Linked DNA regions of Homo sapiens: region 1 is linked to region 2. Evidence: promoter capture Hi-C in human tissues and cell types (Jung and others, 2019). All regions are on one chromosome and are shown on one strand. The core of a region is centred on a gene start or on the middle of the fragment in contact, and the rest is flanking DNA. Distances in the headings are between cores, read along the strand shown.

Region 1 (5,568 bases), core at 688-3,187, 38 kb before region 2:
GCTCCATGAAAACAGATTTTTGTCTACTTTGTTCACTGTTTTCTCAAAACCTAAAAATGTGCTTGGCACAGAGCAGGCACTCAGTAAACACCTGTTAAATGAATGCATGAACCAGTAAAATTAACAGCTTTCCATGTTGAAAATGGACTGCTTTTTGAAAATAAAAACAAATGACAGTGTTCCATAACTTCTAAAAACGTCTGCAATAGTTAAAATTCAGTATCAGGTGGGGTGGCCTAAATAATCTTAGTGTGCAAAAAGGTCAATGTTTTTCTACAGAAATTCATCCCTTCTTTGGTACTGTATCAAAGTTCACACTTCTTTGGTAATGTAAAAAAGCACAGAGTTTTCAATTAGCCACTAATGGCTTTCCTCTAGGTCAAACCACTTAAGAGTTTACATGTAGGTTGTCATCTCAAAGAGAGATATATTAGATGGTCTCTCAAACTTATGACAGCTTAAAATTGGAAAGTAATAGTGAACTGAAGAACACTGGACTAAATGTCATAGGATCTGAATTCTTACCCAAGCTCCAGCCCTTAGGACCTCTGTGAGCAGATGCATCAATCTCTCAAAACTTCAGCTGACTCTTATTTGAACTAAGAAGCACAAAATCAGCCATTATTTTTTATCTTAGAATTGTTGTGAGAATTATATTTGATTGGCAATTTGCAGATTGCTTTCATAATCAGTTTATTTATATGGATGTCATTGTTATTAAGATAATAATTTTTAAATCCATATTTTTGGGAGTAGGTGCAAACCCATTTAGACTACTCTTCTCCTACTCAAACCTCAACCTTTTCCAAAAAAAAAGTATCTGGAAACAGGTCAGGACTTGGAAGCTAGGTGTGAAGAGAAGGGAGGAAAATGAGTGCCACAGGGAAAACAATCCAGTTCATTTTCCTTTTATTCTTGCACTAAGGTCTGGTCAGGAAAATGGAGCACAAAGAAAGAGAGTTTCTGTTCTTCAGTTCTAAGACAACAACATAAACTGCAATTACTTTCAAAACTCTCTGCAGCTTACGGAAAATGCTCATGATTTTAACAACTCTCATATTCTCTTAGGACCCTGGTCTCTCTCTTTTGATGTTTTGGTCTTAAGATCTTCCGAGACCCATCTCTAAAAGTTCACTCTGGGGGACCATAATATTGAGCAACTTACACTTTTTCCAAAATTAAAAATGGTCCTACAAAGTGAAAGCAAAAGCTTGTTACTATGCAGAAGAAAAGGGTTTCCCTTCAATCCTGCTGTGAAGACACATGGCAACTCCAGGAAGCATGGCATCAGTGGGGAAAAGACAGCAGAGTCTCATTAAACCTGCAATACTGAAAGCATGTCTTTACTTGCAGGTCTAAAAACTAGAGAATCGGGAAAAGAATGCTGCTACTAACTTTTAAGCAGTGATCATTTTAAACTCTTGCAACTCTCTCTAAAATAGTCATCATGAGCACTTAACTTTTATTTTTTCAGAAAAGCTATGAGGAGTATTATATACCCATAATATGAGTTACTCTTCCTAAATAACAATCTACTCATCTGTAAAATGGGATAGTGACTACTGCCCACCTTGCAGGATGGGGATTAAGCCATACAATGCATGTAGCAAGTACTGAATAAATAGTAGTAAATTTGTGACTATATGTGGAAAACAAATAACTTAAGGAAAAACATACCCTTTGCTGCAACAGATCTTTCCAAATAGTGCCAACTTCATCTCTAAGTGACTTAAGAAGAGTCAGTAGTGCAACTCAACTGAGACTGAGCAGCATTAGAGGAGGACTGGGCAATTGCCAGATGACCCACGGATGGGGACAGCACTGGCCCTCGGAGCCCCACAGCTTTTCCAAATGCCCTGCCAAGAGGGATCTTCCTCAGCCATTACCATACCATATATATTTATATATGTAACTTATTATCATCTGTCTTCCCCCAAATGGATGCAAGCTCCATGAATGCAGATTTTTGTCTACTTTGTTCACTGTTGTTTCCCCCAAACCCAAAAATGTGTTTGGCACAGAGCAGGCACTCAGTTAATACCTGTTAAACAAATGCCCTCTGCCCCCTAAGCCTGCTGTACCTTGTCAAAGACAGATCCAGACCATTTGGGAACACAGTAAAAGCACTCAGATTTAGACAACAAAACTGAAACTAAAAGAAGAATGGCTTCATACTGAAATAAGAATCACATCTCAAAAACTGCTTACAAATTACTCCTTAAAACTGGAATCCTGTAAAGTTTAGTTAAATTTCTCTTGTTTATATGCAGGCATTCTCTCTCTAGAACAGATGCATCCATAGGGATGGTAGTAAAGTAAGTTGAAACAAATCAACTAATACGTATCATGTGTTTGCATTTAGAATATATTCTGTGTGTGTGTGTGTGTGTGTGTGTGTGTGTATGTGTATGTGTGTGTTTTGGGAGAGGGGGATCTCAAAAAACAAACTTGAAAGCTTTTCTGAGAAAATAAAAACAAAAATAATAACTAGCATTTCAATACTCAGTATTTTTTCAATATATTTTGAACTTTTAAGCTATTCATAGCATTTTTCAATTGCAGCATGGCTCTGAATTTCTGAGCCTAACAACCAAATTTATACTATGTTTGGCAACAAAGTGGGATATTTTGACCTCACAAGGTTGATCTCTGAGATGATTCTTCCCTTCCCTACACACAGACAGTTTATCTTTTCTTTGCTAATGGTTTTTGAACTGCCAGTGATGTATACAGATAGCATATAGTAAGCAAACTGATAGCAAACAGACACAAGAACAGGACTAAGTTCAATTATAGAAATAATTCTCCATAATTGTTCAAGTTTTATATTTGAATAGCAACCACAAATATAGGACAACAAGAGTATCAAATATAATTACAGAAAATTATCATATCATGGCCACTTATTCTGCTTTTCAAAAATAAATGACAATGAAACCATCAATTTTTAGTGCTTTTTTTCACACTTGCAAAGCTAGACTTCACATTCCCCATGAAAAGATCAGATCTATGGATGGTGAAGAAACATTCTCATGGAAGTGTTGTTGCCAGAGTTCCTGCTGCCATGACTGATACTTACAAAGTTTGAACACTCTTTAATTCATATATGTGTTTATCAGAGCACATAAGAGTAGGCAAAAGAAAAACAACTAAAGCCAGATGTAATGATAAAAAGTGATGTAAAGCTTTAGGAATCTCTTCTAGCTCCAGCAAAATCAATGGTTTTAAACTGAGGTTCAAGAACATTTTCAGACCTACAAATATGGGAAACTTTTATTTGGTTTGGATCTGGCCAGTAGTCCTCATGTTCACTTCAACAATCACATGAAAAGACCTCCTTCATAAAATATTTCAAATAGAGCCAACTCTTTTAGCAAGGATTTAGTAAATTTCCATTGAAAGATAATTTTAATTATTTCTGACCTCCTACTGATGTATTCTTAAAGCCATAAGAACTTTACACAAAATTTCACAATGGTATCAATGTCCATCACTTCAACAAGAGGCATTAAAACAACTGTTCAATTTCTCCTGACATTAAATTTGTTAGTTTTTTTCAATTCAGTGAAAGTTGGAGCAGAAAATGTTAACAGCACATCTGATAACACGTATTTTGCTCATGCAAAGGAGATGATTGTGTCACCTGCCTAAATTCCGACTTATAAGCTAGGGCTTCATTGGAGACCTTAGCAGTTAATATACTAGAAAAATTATAATAACACTTAAATTGATTCAGGAAATGTGTTTTGGTTACCTCCACAGGTCTGGTCAATCAGCAGTAATGAACTACCAAACAATTCGGTTAGAGATACACATGTCACGTTCAAATGGAATTTGAAATAGAGCACTCCTCTGTATTTTAGAAATCCATTAACAGGATCGGCAAGACCCAATCCAAAATGGATCGATAACAAGATCGGTACATTTGACAGGAAAAAATTGTCTCAGAGGCACTTGACTATTGACTGTGTTAGAACTGAAAGAATTGAGATTGGCATGGTATATTGACAAAGGATAAACTGTGAACTAAGAGAAATTGATCATAATTGTCTCAGGGCTTGGGTAAGAAATAAATAAAAACTACAGGCTGTTAATTCATTTCTAAACAAATGCATTACTTGTAACAATAAGTAAGATAAAATAAAGTTCATAATAGCTAAAACGTCAAATGTGATTTTGCTAACAACAATGATAATTACAACACCAATTTTAGAAAACTAGATTTAGTAGAAATAACACAAAATTGGCAGTGGCTAACCACTGATAGAAGAATTAAATCTTCCTCGTAAAATTTCAGTCATGCCAATATTTGACCAAGAAGTCTGGACTTCATGAAACAGCAATTTCAATAACAGAAGCTATAATCGTTAACATTTTAATTCATGCCAGAAAGTTGAATAATATGTTAAATTATTGTTTTAAAAGCTATACAAAATGTAAGCCATCCAATGAAATTAATCCCATTAAACTAAGATGGACATAAAAAGTGAAATTTAGCTGTTCTGTATAGAATGGAGGTTAATTCTAGAAAAGACTAGACTAACCAGTGTTAATTAAGTTTTAAAAATTTAAATTTATGAACAGAAAGTCATGAACATTCTCAGGGTCAAAACATTCTATAACGAAGTGATGTTGATCTCTTGACTACATATTCAAAAAACTCTTCTCCCCCTTTCCTGGATATTTACAATATCTAAGCTCTCAGTGTCTATGTAATTCATATTCTGTAACAACAATAGAATTAGGTCAGAATCCCAGAACAAGAGCATGGGCCTTGGTGTCAGTGAGACTCGAATTCAAGCCCACTCTACCACCAGCTGCATCATCTTAAACAAGTGACTGAGGTTCTGCTGGGTAAGTACCAATGTCTGTAAAAAGATGTGATACTGCAAAGTGTTGTTGAGAGTATTAAATGATAATTTTGATAAAATACATGTCATTGACCTTTCTGACACTTTACTCTCCTCCATGACAATGATGCTTAAGATCTTGAGAAAAAGGTCTTCCTGGCACACAGATGTATTCAAATATAAGGTTACTATTAACCTAATGATGATACAATGAAGAAGAATATCTGCTTAGATAACTCCAGGGTGATCAACAACAACTACTGAGTCATGCTAATTTTATCCAGGTTTTCCATATGTGGATGGGGAATCCCACATCGGGGATTGGGGGAGCAGGACTGTTTTCTTTCGGAAAAGCTTCAAGTAAACAAGAAACACTATTAAATATAAATGGTGTTTAAATATAGGCTCAAATTTTTAGTGATACTTGAACAATTCACCCCATGGAATGAATTTGTTTCTTAACTGAAAACTAATCTATTGCAATATTAGTAACCAAATCAATAATCTCCAAAGGCAAATATAATATTGTATAAAAGAAAAGAATGAAATCCACTGGCTTAAAGGTAAGTAGGCATGTCACAACTAGGTAAGATGTCCCTGACACCTCTATGATTCCTGGTTTACTTGAAGGGTCATTGTTGTAGTATTTGCTATTGGTTTTGCTATTGTTACTGAATGGCTTTGGCTTCATAGTTTCATCAAAGATGTGACCCCTATT
Region 2 (5,841 bases), core at 363-2,862:
TATGAACAGAGCGACTGGAACAGTTACCCCTACAGATGCATCGAAAGGCACCCACGCATCCAAACAAAAAAGAACACAAAACCCATTCCCTATACAATTTTTTAAGGTGTCAGCTCGTCAACCATTTCAAGTTACTTAAGTAGAAAAAGTCCCTTTCACATCACAGTTGAGTCAGAGGTGCCAGAGGTACCCCCATTTTCACGTCAACCCAGGTCCTCATCCTAAAACGTCAACGTCCTGAATCCACTACGCAGATTCCAGCACTGGAGGCGCCGGCGATCGGCACCCGCCCCCTCCGGCATGGGCGCTTCGGAATAACTGGGCGCCGCCGGCTCACACCCTGCCCGCAATGTTTTGCACTTTGCTGGGTCTGTTCCAGGCCTCTAGCCCTCTCTTCGCTGCTCCCAGCCAGGAAGAGTCCGAGAGGCGACTGGAGCGTCAGGCTGGAGAAGTGGGTTCCCTCCGCCTGCTAGGCTGTCGCTGCGACCCCATTCCCCCGGCAAGGGGTCGAAGCCCCCGGGCGGGGCGGGGCGGAGGACAGCACGAGGCCCAGGACTTCCACGCCATCTCTGCAGCCCCGCGCCTCCCTCCTCAGCCCTGGCCGGGTCCCCGCGTCCCCCCGACCCCCGATCGCAAAGCCGGGGTGCGAGAGGGAAAGGGAAGTGAGGCGGCACGCGTATGGAGGGTGTGAGTGCGGACACACATACAGGGTGGCTAGGTACGAAAAACCCCGCCTCTCCCCGAACTCCCGCCTCGGACCAGCTGCAGCTCCACCACTCCAGGGCTCCCTGCGCCGGGACAAAGCTGCCGCGGCCTCTCTGCGCCCGCGGAGCGCGTCGTCGCCCGATCTCCTCAGTCTCCTCCGGCCGCAACCCCGTCCCAAAGGACCCGTGGGCCGCCCCAGGGACGGAGGGGACCCGGAGCCGGGCGCCCGCAGCCCCCGCCCCCCGCGCCCTCGCCCGGCGCCGCCGCTCACCTGTTCAGCACTTTGCGGATCCTCTGGCGCACGCCAGCCCGGGAGGAGGCGGACAGGCTCCCGCCGCCGCCGCTGCCCTCGGCCGGCAGGTTCTCGATGGTGGTCACCACATGGTTCGGCGGGGCTGGCGACGGCGGCTGCAGCTGCTGCTGCGGCTGCTCAGGGGGGATCATCGCGGCAGAGGCTGAGGCGCGGCGGCGATCAGAACGCAGCCGGGTGCATCGTGTGCCGGTTCCGGGCCCGGGAACGCGCAGAGGACCCGGCCGGGCGGCCGCGGCCCGGGAGGCGGTGCTGCCTGCGAAGCGGTGAGGCGGGGAGGCACCCGCGGCTACGGCCGCCGCCGCCCAGCCCGCCACTCACTCCTCTCCAGTCCCAGTGCGCGCACCCTCGCGCCCGTGCCGCCGCCGCCGCCGCCCGCCCCGGCTCTTCCCGAGCCGCGTCCCCAAGTCCTGGCCCGCCCCGCGAAGTGGCTGCGAAGGGTGTCGCGCGGGGGCGCGGAGCTGCCGGTCGGTTCCGGGGAAGGAGTCCTGATTTCTCCTTGTTTCCTCGTGCCCGGGTCTCCTCGGGGCGCGCGGCGGCAGTTGTGCTGGCGCCGCCTCAGCCTGTGCCCCGCTCGGTCGGAAAGCTACCGTCTGTGTCTCACGGAGTGAGAGACCGAGGGTGAACCCGGAGAGCCGGGCGGGGGCGCCGGCGGCGGCGGCGGCGGCGGCGGCGGCGGCGGCAGAGCGGGGCGCGGGCGGGGGACCTGCGCGCTCTCCTCTCGCCAGAGGGCGCTGCCGAGGTGCCTTGTTGCCCCCGACCCTCTACTGCCCCGTCCGCAGAGGCCCACGGTCTAGGTTGTGGTGATTGTTTTGGTTTGGGTGTTTTTTAGGGGGATAAGGGGGCTGGGAATAGATCCTCCCTGTGGAGTTGGCGGGGATTCCTCGTTTCTGCCCAAGCGCCGCGGAATCCAGCACCACCGGCCTGGGACAGCGGCAGGACGCCGAGACAGGTGCCGGCCCCGGATTAGAAACCCAAACGGAGAATCCTAGATGTTGCTCCTACTACATTCGCCATAATTGGCCTGGTGGAAATGGGAGAAAAAACTACTTCTCACAAAGAATCAATTCTGGGAACTGGAAAAAGCATATCAGACCAACTCAAAACGTCTCCATTTGAGGCAATGTAGTGCTGTGAAAGGAACGTAGGCAGATTTGAGTTTCAGTGGCACATCTGAAACTTATCCGCAGAGACTCTAAGCAATTAAATTCTGAGACATTCTTCTCTGTGCAGCGAGACTACTCATGTCTTTCTCCCAGGGGAGTTGTAAGACTTAAATGAGGTAAACCACGCAGCAGGGGAGCCTAACAGCTCCTTTAATAGTCCCCCAACTCCAAAAGGGAAAGTCCTGTGTATCTGCCACAGAAATCTTGGACCATATTTCTACCAATGGAAACTGACTCTCTGTCCCGGGCATTCTTATACCAATTGATCCGGATCCCAATTAATAATCGATTCTTGAAAGAGAGATATTTTTCAAATTTTCCTTTATTTAGACTGTTTAGATAGGGATCTTGCCTTGAAAAATGATATGCATTTTAAAAAACTCTTCGCTTCAGTGCAGGGAATTGAGTAAGTTTAACAGGTAAGTTTGTTCACACAAAGGCATGCTGATACCACTACTGAATCCAAATGCTCTGAAACCAGCAAATTAAAAATACCAGTGATAGGATTTGCCACTGAGAGAGGGAATTGGGGAGAAAATAACACTCAAAAAAGGAATGGACTATGTCCTTTCAACAGAGGAGAAAAGGAATATGGAAGGATATAAATAAGATGGGATTCTTTGTTCAGTTAACAAGGTCCAATTCCTTTAACAAAATTCGGAGTCTTTTTTTAATCATCAAAAATATGAGAAAACGGGTATTTGCAAAATCTCTTCAATCTATATTTCAATTCTGTAAAACCTACTTGCTACCTGAAATATCCCTGAGGTTTCTTTCTACAGAAATTAACCCCAATTGGAACATTTTCCCTTTTATAATTAAAATGTCGTCCTGTTCTTTCTCAACAACCTTTCATTCTCTGATTTTTCCACCTCAGATTTGCACAGGACACTCTGAAGAATTATTACAAACAGGACCAAGGCTTGTAGCCTCTTGGGCATTAAAATTCCAATAGTGGCAATAAATTTACCCTTAGTGGACCCACCGAATGTAGCAGACATGAATAAAATGCACTTCAGCTGAACCTGGCAGCAAATCGTGGTAGAAGTCTCTCTATTAAAACAACATTTATGGTAATTTCAGGTGTCTGCCTTGAATAACTGGTTGCTTCAGTGCCCTCTTCCTTCACATTTGGCTTGCCTCCCTTTGAATGTTTTTGGCACATCACGACTCAGTGCTGTGTCTGCACTTCAATGTCTGCATTTGCATCTGGTCATTTCTCTAGAGGGACTACTAAATCCAAATGCTCTACATCTCCTCTGAGTCAGGAAGGGAGAAAACCAAGATGAAAGAACAACAAGATGAGAGATGTAAAATTTCGATCTTGTTGGTAAGACCTCAATGCAGACTCAAGCCTTATGCTTTTGTTACTCCATTTCTGGGGGAATACAGCATCAGATCCCTTCTTATCCTCTGATTCTGTACTCCATGCTCATTTCTTAGAAAGTAGCTAACCGCCAAGTGTGTTGGTGTGTGCCTGTAGTCCCAGCTACTCTTAATGCTAAGACAGGAGGATGGCTTGAGCCCAGGAGGTAGAGGCCAGCTTGGGCAACATAGCAAGACACCATCTCTAAAAGAAAAAAATATTTAAGTAGCTAGATAACATTTGTGAAGTAAGTAAACAGGAGTCAAATGTCCAAGTGTCATAATGGTGTGTCTGACATGAAATTAAACATAAAAGATGTAGAAAAGGGCTGCTTCCCTTTTTCCTGCTGCAAGACTTTTGTCCATCCCTGACCTCAAAATCAGTTCACGAGCTCTGACCAAAAGGAAGGGAGATGAAGGCAATGGGCTAAGGATCTGTATGTAGTTTTCAGTGGTGGCATGTGGGTTCCAGGGACATGCCTACTTCTCAGTTTACCTCCTCTTTGTCAGCTGTGGTTAGTGGTATGATGCTATTGCAGAATTTCCATGCCACAAAAAATTCTGCCTCTCTTACCATTATATCACCCGAATTTCTCTTCAGGCACAGACTAGTTCTGTTGAATTCCTTAAGGAAGCAGAAGTTGGCTATCAGCTATACCTTCTTTAGTGTTTCTCATTTTGAAGACATGTCCACTGATGTGGGGAAGAGTGAAGTTTGGCCTATGTCAGAGTCACCAGGCACTGACTAATCTGTTTAGCATAGACTGCACCTGTGCACGTTATTGAGAAAAAAGCTTCACAGTCATGCACCAGAGGTAACTGATGATCCTCCCCAAATTGCTGAACAACTATCTGGAATTGCTTGTGCTGCTGCAAATGACCAGTGGCCATATGCTTTCCCCGTATCATTCTTTTAATCTTTTTCTTTATCTCCTAAGTCAGATTGAATCTTCTCAACATGTAGTACTGAATCTATGGCCTCCAGAATGATAGAGCTTTGTGGTTTTGATTCACATAATAGAACTTGAATGGGAGAGAAAGCCAGGCAAAACTGGTGAAAAATTTGTGGAGAGGGGAAATGGCAGAGGAGTAGAATGGGTAAATCAATTTACATCCAAGAAATGGATACAATAATTGGCATGTTAAAGCACAGAACTTCAGTGAACAATCATCATCAATGAAGATAGTCTATAAATGGTATTAGTGGATATGAAAATATGCACAGAGCAGGGAAACAGACACTAGGCAACAGATATCAAAGACTGTTCACACATTCTACACGATGTTTCTGTTTATGTAATTTTTTTGTTTTGCATTTTGGAAACTTATTCCTTTGGAGTAAACCCAGAATACTGTGTAGGTTTATAATTGACCTTTTTGCTAAGAGAGATGGAGGATTAGAGATTAGTGCTGTTAGTTGTGGATAAGGGCTAATTTTGCAGAGTCAGACTACATTTTGATGAGTTTAAAATTTCTAAGTATTATTTGCAGAGTATTCCATGTCCAAAAGCCTGGTTTGGTATGTCTTTGTCATGGTGACATGGTAAGTCTCTGTTGACAGGAAGTTTGCCACATTCAGTGAAGGAATTATTCAGTAGTATCAATTTCCTCTAAATGAGTAGGATTATCTTAATATCCTAAGATATTAGGAAAAAATTCTATAGATGATGATATCTCAGAAGCGCTTACTATTTTACATACAATCAGTTATCAAATATCTGAATAAGGGAGAAAGATCCTTATACAAACATCAATTATTTCAGCCAGTGACTTCAATATTCTCTCCTTCTAAATATTTTAATACATAAAAATACTGATGGAAAATTGTGGGTAAAATTGTAATGACTTTTGTGTGGAATTTATACACTGAGTTATTAGGGCTAGGTAGGTGGAACTTGGAGCCCAAGTAATCTCAGTTCCAATTCCAGCTCCATTAACAAACTGGGTTAATTTTAGGCAATTATCTCAGATTTTCTGAGCATAAGTTTCCTAATCTTTAAAAATGGGGATAAGGGCCGGGCGCGGTGGCTCACACCTGTAATCCCAGCACTTTGGGAGGCCGAGGCGGGCGGATCACAAGGTCAGGAGATCGAGACCATCCCGGCTAAAACGGTGAAACCCCGTCTCTACTAAAAATACAAAAAAATTAGCCGGGCGTAGTGGCGGGTGCCTGTAGTCCCAGCTACTTGGGAGGCTGAGGCAGGAGAATGGCGTGAACCCGGGAGGCGGAGCTTGCAGTGAGCCGAGATCCCGCCACTGCACTCCAGCCTGGGCGACAGAGCGAGACTCCGTCTC

What was found. Contacts are between HindIII fragments. The study calls those that stand out against the background at their distance.
Region 1: a contact is called between a fragment that was not itself captured here and the fragment with the promoter of SLC35F1 in region 2, in 1 of the 25 tissues and cell types used here (bladder).

The regions. Positions count from the first base shown.
Region 1 is chr6:117,941,427-117,946,994 of GRCh38, reverse strand. The region is part of intron 1 of SLC35F1 (solute carrier family 35 member F1); the gene reads right to left. Among named protein-coding and RNA genes, the nearest start is that of SLC35F1, 37 kb to the right of the region's middle. The HindIII fragment of the contact is 4,517 bases long and covers 1-4,195 here.
Region 2 is chr6:117,903,035-117,908,875 of GRCh38, reverse strand. SLC35F1 (solute carrier family 35 member F1) reads right to left here and starts at 1,612. Exons shown (of 8, transcript NM_001029858.4): 1 at 977-1,612. The coding sequence starts at 1,149. LOC124901480 (a long non-coding RNA gene) reads left to right here and starts at 1,946. Exons shown (of 2, transcript XR_007059904.1): 1 at 1,946-2,600; 2 at 3,059-3,217. The HindIII fragment of the contact is 14,555 bases long and covers 1-5,619 here.